2 separate regions of the Homo sapiens genome follow, and region 1 is linked to region 2. Evidence: promoter capture Hi-C in 16 types of primary human blood cells and fetal thymus (Javierre and others, 2016). All regions are on one chromosome and are shown on one strand. Each heading gives the region's core, a stretch centred on a gene start or on the middle of the fragment in contact. The rest is flanking DNA. Distances are from core to core; before and after follow the strand shown.

The links. Contacts are between HindIII fragments. The CHiCAGO score rates a contact against its expected background, and 5 or more counts as called.
Region 1: a contact is called between a fragment that was not itself captured here and the fragment with the promoter of ATG9A in region 2, in 3 of 17 cell types (naive CD8 T cells, activated CD4 T cells and total CD8 T cells). The highest score is 5.7, in naive CD8 T cells.

What each region holds. Positions count from the first base shown.
Region 1 is chr2:218,672,183-218,675,034 of GRCh38, forward strand. STK36 (serine/threonine kinase 36) reads left to right here. Exons shown (of 27, transcript NM_015690.5): 1 at 1-33; 2 at 559-731; 3 at 1,443-1,583; 4 at 1,697-1,774. The coding sequence starts at 648. Among named protein-coding and RNA genes, the nearest start is that of STK36, 1.5 kb to the left of the region's middle. The HindIII fragment of the contact is 1,099 bases long and covers 869-1,967 here.
Region 2 is chr2:219,228,141-219,230,911 of GRCh38, forward strand. It overlaps ATG9A (autophagy related 9A), which reads right to left and starts at 1,496. Exons shown (of 16, transcript NM_001077198.3): 1 at 1,395-1,496; 2 at 294-345. It overlaps ANKZF1 (ankyrin repeat and zinc finger peptidyl tRNA hydrolase 1), which reads left to right and starts at 1,666. Exons shown (of 14, transcript NM_018089.3): 1 at 1,666-1,760; 2 at 2,088-2,265. The coding sequence starts at 2,118. RefSeq lists enhancers at 436-984, 985-1,532, 1,533-2,080, 1,751-1,860 and silencers at 1,211-1,260, 1,471-1,600. The HindIII fragment of the contact is 5,267 bases long and covers 1-2,771 here.

The DNA of each region.
Region 1 (2,852 bases), core at 168-2,667, 560 kb before region 2:
CTGAACTTCTCACCAGTTCTAGCGAGTAAAATTGTAAGAAAGGGAGCCGAAAGAGACCGGAGGGAGAGGCGGGTGGAGAAGAATTATAAGTCAGGCAACGTATGCAGGCAGCCAGAAGAGATGGGGCTAAACGCCAGGGAATCCGTCCCTTGGCCTGAGGAGCTTGGAGCTCCTAGGCTGGGGGTGAGAGAGGGGCTCTGGCCTGCGAAGCGCACGGGCCAGGGGGTCTGAGAGCGGGTGCTGAGGAGTCTGGGAGTGGCAGGAACTTGGGGGAGACTCAAAGGAGCAGGGTTGGTTGGGCGAGGCTAGGTTGAAAGAGTAGGGTCGAGTGAGCCAGGCTGGGTGAGGGAGAAGGGGAACCAGGTGTTAGTTGGGCATGGGGCCGGGTTGGGGACAGGAGGATGAAAGTGGGGAGGAACTACAAAGAGAAGCTCTGTTTGTTCCAAGAGCGCATCATCTTTGCATGCATTCCACCCTCCCATGTTTTTTGAGGCTTTATTGTGAAAAAGAGGAAAAGGCAAGGTGGCTAACATTTTTCCTTTCCCGTGCCCCAACTAGGCGTCCCAGATGTTGTGGAACTGTCCCTGGATCTATAGCTCTTCACCGTCTCTACTTTCTTCCTTCTAAGAGATCCTGAAACCTCTGTCATGGAAAAGTACCACGTGTTGGAGATGATTGGAGAAGGCTCTTTTGGGAGGGTGTACAAGGGTCGAAGAAAATACAGTGCTCAGGTGTTGCACAAAGAGGGATACCTTTTGGGTGGGATTTGGTACCCCCAACTCCAGTGGAAAATGGATCTAGAAGGAATGTATTTATACCAGTTTGTATTCCTAAGGTACTGACTCCCTCATACTTCTTATGGAGTATAAGCTTTGAAGTTGGATTATTTGGGTGCAAATTCCATCTCCACCGCTTTCTAGCCCTAGAATTATGGACAAATTACTTAACTTCCCTATGTCTCAATTTCCTTATCTCTAGAATGGGGATAAGAACAGCAACTGATTGATGGAGTTTGAGGATTAAATATGTTTTCACATTAAATCACTTAGTACAGTGCCTGGCTGTTAGTAAACAACAAATATTATTAGTCTCTAGCACACCATGTAATAAGAGGTAAACCACTTGAACTCTATTATTTCCTCTTCATTTTTTTTTTCCTTTCCTTTCTCCTAAATCTCATCTTGAGTGCTGGTCAAATCAGAACACTTCTTCCAGAAGGGGAAATGTTTTGCAGATGCTGTTTCCTCCTGGGATGAGGAATGGGGAAAGCCTGGATAAGGCCAGGGTACCATGGAGAAAATGGAAGCGGGAGACTAACAGAAATAATAAGAGTTACTCAAACACTCTAAAATCTGACTTCTGGAGCTCTGAGATTAAGGCTGAAATTCTAGATCTTTTCAGTAGTGTGATTAGGCGTTAACTTTTCACCTTACCACTGACAGGTCGTGGCCCTGAAGTTCATCCCAAAATTGGGGCGCTCAGAGAAGGAGCTGAGGAATTTGCAACGAGAGATTGAAATAATGCGGGGTCTGCGGCATCCCAACATTGTGCATATGCTTGACAGCTTTGAAACTGATAAAGAGGTGTGCTTTGACAGTTTTGGGCCCTGTCTCCCCAAGCACAAGGGTTCCAGGAATTTCCCAACCTCAGAATGCATGAATCTGGAGCCATCAGTGCCACTGCCTTCTCTCTGTAGGTGGTGGTGGTGACAGACTATGCTGAGGGAGAGCTCTTTCAGATCCTAGAAGATGACGGAAAACTTCCTGAAGACCAGGTATGCTTTCTGCCTTCAACTTCTCCCCACCTCCGACCTCTCTCCAGGTTAGAGAACTGGTAGAGCAAGCTAAGGACACTGAGAGTCTCCATTTCAAAGACTTCTGAGAAGAATATAAGAGTCTAGGTATATAGAGGCAGTGTAGTGTGGGAGTAAATTATGTAAACGTTGGAGTCAAAATATCTGAGCAGGAAGCTTGGCTCTGCTCCTTCCTAGCTGGGTCTCATTGGACAAGTTACTTTAATTTCTTTGTGCTTAGTTTCCTAATTTGTAAAATGGAGATAATAATCATGTTTGCCTGATAAGTCTATGATGAAGAGTGTTAAGTCATGTAATGTGTTTGAATAGTTAGCTATTATTAACATTATTGTTATTAGATACCTTTAGGGAAGAAGGGCCAGTGTAATGGTACCAGAAAGAGGGCAGTAAGAATAAAGGTTGTGGGGAGTCAGGATTTGGCACCAGGACGTAGTGGTTAGCAGTGGGATTTTGTTGCACATATCCTCCAGCCACATTTATTCTAGGCGTTTGTCTGTACCCAAGCAAGTAGGCCCCCCCTGGGATTCATTATTGCAGCATTCTCTTTCCTTCTGAGCACTCACCACTATTTGTAAGTAATCATATTTTTGAAATTATTTTATTTTTAATTGAATTTTATTTTTTGAGACAGAGTCTCGCTTTGTTGCCCAGGCTGGAGTGCAGTGGCACAATCTTGGCTCACAGCAAACTCCGCCTTCCAGGTTCAAGCAATTCTCGTGCCTCAGCCTCCCCAGTAACCAGGATTATAGCATGCGCCACCATGCCTAGCTAATTTTGTACTTTTAGTAGAGATGGGGTTTCACCATGCTGGCCAGGCTGGTCTCGAACTGCTGGCCTCAGGTGATCTGCCCGCCTCAGCCTCCCAAAGTGCTGGTATTACAGGTGTGAGCCACCACGCCCGACCACCATATTTGTTTTATCTGTCTTGTTTGTTTGTCTGACTACTTTTCTTGAAAAAAGGCATTTTGTCTTATTTAATAACAGGTAATGTGTATTGAATATTTACTATGTGCCAGGCACCATTCTGAGTATTATTTTG
Region 2 (2,771 bases), core at 246-2,745:
CCTTGGGCTTTGTCCACTACCAGCCTCCTTGGCTCAGAGGCAGAGGAGTAGTGACACAAGAAAGGCAGTAAGCTCAGGGCTGGGGGAGCCTTAACTCTGGCCAGTCTGGGTGTCTACTGCTGCTTTCCTGGCCCAAAGCCAGAATCTGTCCCTTTGTTGGGGGCTGTTTCATCTTCTATTTAACGGACAGAAGAGTCCCTCCCCCGCCCATCCTGGGAACCCTGGTCTCCCAAGAGACTAACAGTTTGGAAGCACTTCACAAACAAATGTTTGAGAAAAGCACATGGCCCTACCAGCTCCATGGACAGTATGTGCTCCTCTCCAGCCCTCGATGCTCTGCAGCTGCTGGAGGAGAAGATGTCAGGCCCCAGAGAGTGGGCAGTGGGGATAAAAAGGAACCCAACCCTCCCAGCCATCCACACCCCACCAAGAGGAGGCCAAGCATGGGGCAGGAAGGCTGCAGTGGGGAAGAAGCACCCTTCCAGCCCAGGACTACGAGCACTTCCTCTGGCTGTGCTAAACCGGGCCACTCTTCCAACTCCAGGGTCTCAAGAAGTAACTTAGGGACCCCATGGAGAATGAGTGGGTACAGACCTGAGGCCAGGGGCGCCTCTGGACTATTTCTCCATTGCCCTACCTTAGCCTCAGAAATGACATACTTCTCAGGGTCCACAAAACCTCAAGAGTCTTTCCTGAAGAGGACCTTTCTGGTCAACCCCTTCTCTTACTTCCCTAGCACCAAAGATCCAGCCGGTGAGCAAACCTTCTGGATGGGAAACCTTGACTGGGTCAGTGTAGACCCCCGATCCTAGGTGAATTTGTGGGTTCCCTAGGTCCTGTAAGCCAGGCATGGTCGAGGTGGTACTCACCTGTCCGTGCAGCCCCTGGGGGCCGTGGATCTTGGCCCAGCCTGGCCCCGGTGGGATTCCCTGGGCTAGTGAGAGCCCTGCCCCTCAGGGAAGTCACCACTCACAGGGTCAGTGTGGACCAGGGCCCGTGGAGCCCCGGCCGGCTGGGCCTGGGCTCAGGGGTTCCTGCGGATGTTGCAGGGATCGAGTCAGCCTTACAGCTGATAGCCCGGGTGGGTTGGCTTGCCTCCCCACACCCAGCCGCGGCGACCGTGGACCGGAGTCCACCTCGCCCCAGGGTCGCCCGGCCCCAGGCCAAGGGCTGGCAGCTCCCAACAGCGGACAACCTCGCGCGCGGCCCCGGCGCCCGCGCGCGCCCCCGTCTGCGCGCGCCAGCAATCAAAACATTCCGGCTGCGCGCCCCCGCCCCGCCGGCGGCGCCCCTTCCTCCGTTACCCGCCGCGAGCTCACTTAGGGCTCCGCAGGCACCCCTGGGCAAGGCCAGACACGGGGCCTGGGATTCCAATAACCGGTCTCACGTCTTACCTCAGGAACAGCGACCCGGGTGATTCCAGAGGCTCCGCCGGCTCCGCTCGGCTCGGCTCGGCTCGGCGCGACCCGCGGCGCTAGGCCGGGTGTCTGCCACTCACTGTCACCCGCAGCCAGGCTGGCCAATAAGCACGGGGGGCGGAGACACAACGGCCAATTCTCGGCTTCAGGGACGGGACTAAAGTCTCGAGGCGGGTCTTGGACAGTCAGCGGCCCAATAGTGTGCTCTACGTGGGGCGGGGCTCAGGTGCGGACGCCGCCGGTTGTCCTCTTCGCTGCTCCGTAGTGACGGGGATTGTTGTGTTGCAGAAATCCGGCAATCGACCTGAGGACTTGCGAGCCGCTCAGCTCCCGGGACGTTTGGTGCGTCTTCTAAGGGCGTGGGCGAGTTTACGCGGGCCAGTTGTTGCTGGTCGCATGGGTAACGAAGAAAGTTCGGCTAGGCAAGCTCAGTGATTTTTAACTCTGTTGGACTCGATTTGGGAGCCGAATGCCTATTTCATTCTTTTGTGGGCTGAGACTGGGGGTTTGAGAAAGTGGACGGGGGCCAAGGTATTCATCTCACAGTTGGTAGCAGGATGAGAGACGAGAAGTCTTGCGGTGCAGGAGAAACCAAGTCAGGCAGGCAGGAGACGCAGCAGTAGGATCTCGTTTGCAGGAGCCCTGTTTCTTACACGCTTTCTACTCCAGGAGCTGCTGCTAAATAATTTCTGCTCAGCCATGTCGCCGGCTCCAGATGCAGCCCCGGCTCCTGCGTCGATCTCCCTGTTTGACCTCAGCGCGGATGCTCCGGTCTTTCAGGGCCTGAGCCTGGTGAGCCACGCGCCTGGGGAGGCTCTGGCCCGGGCTCCGCGTACTTCCTGTTCAGGTATCCTGGAAGGTTTCGTGTGAAACGTGACAGGGCTCCTTACAGCGTATTGCCCGTTCAGGGAACACATTCTTATTGGTATTCCCGAGCTTAGGAGGCCAATTGATTTATCTTTCTGCTTGATTAAATTCACTTAATCTCTGGGTAATGTCCAGCACAGCCCTTGTTTTCAAACAAGTCTTTTTGCCATTGCATGTATCTCCTCACGTTAACACCATTCCCTTCAAAAACACTTTAAACTTTGTAGAGATAAAATTCTCAGATGTATTCCACATTTAACCAGGCCCCACTCAAATTATTCCTTTTTGCTGAATATGAAACAATTTATTATTTGTTTCGTATAGCTTTATTTTTTGAGAGTCTCGCTCTGTCGCCCAGGCTAAAGTGCAGTGGCACGATCTCCACCCACTGCAATCTCCGTCTCCCGGGTTCAAGTGATTCTCCTGCCTCAGCCTCCCGAGTAGCTGGGACTACAGGCCCGCACCACCATGCCCGGCTAATTATTG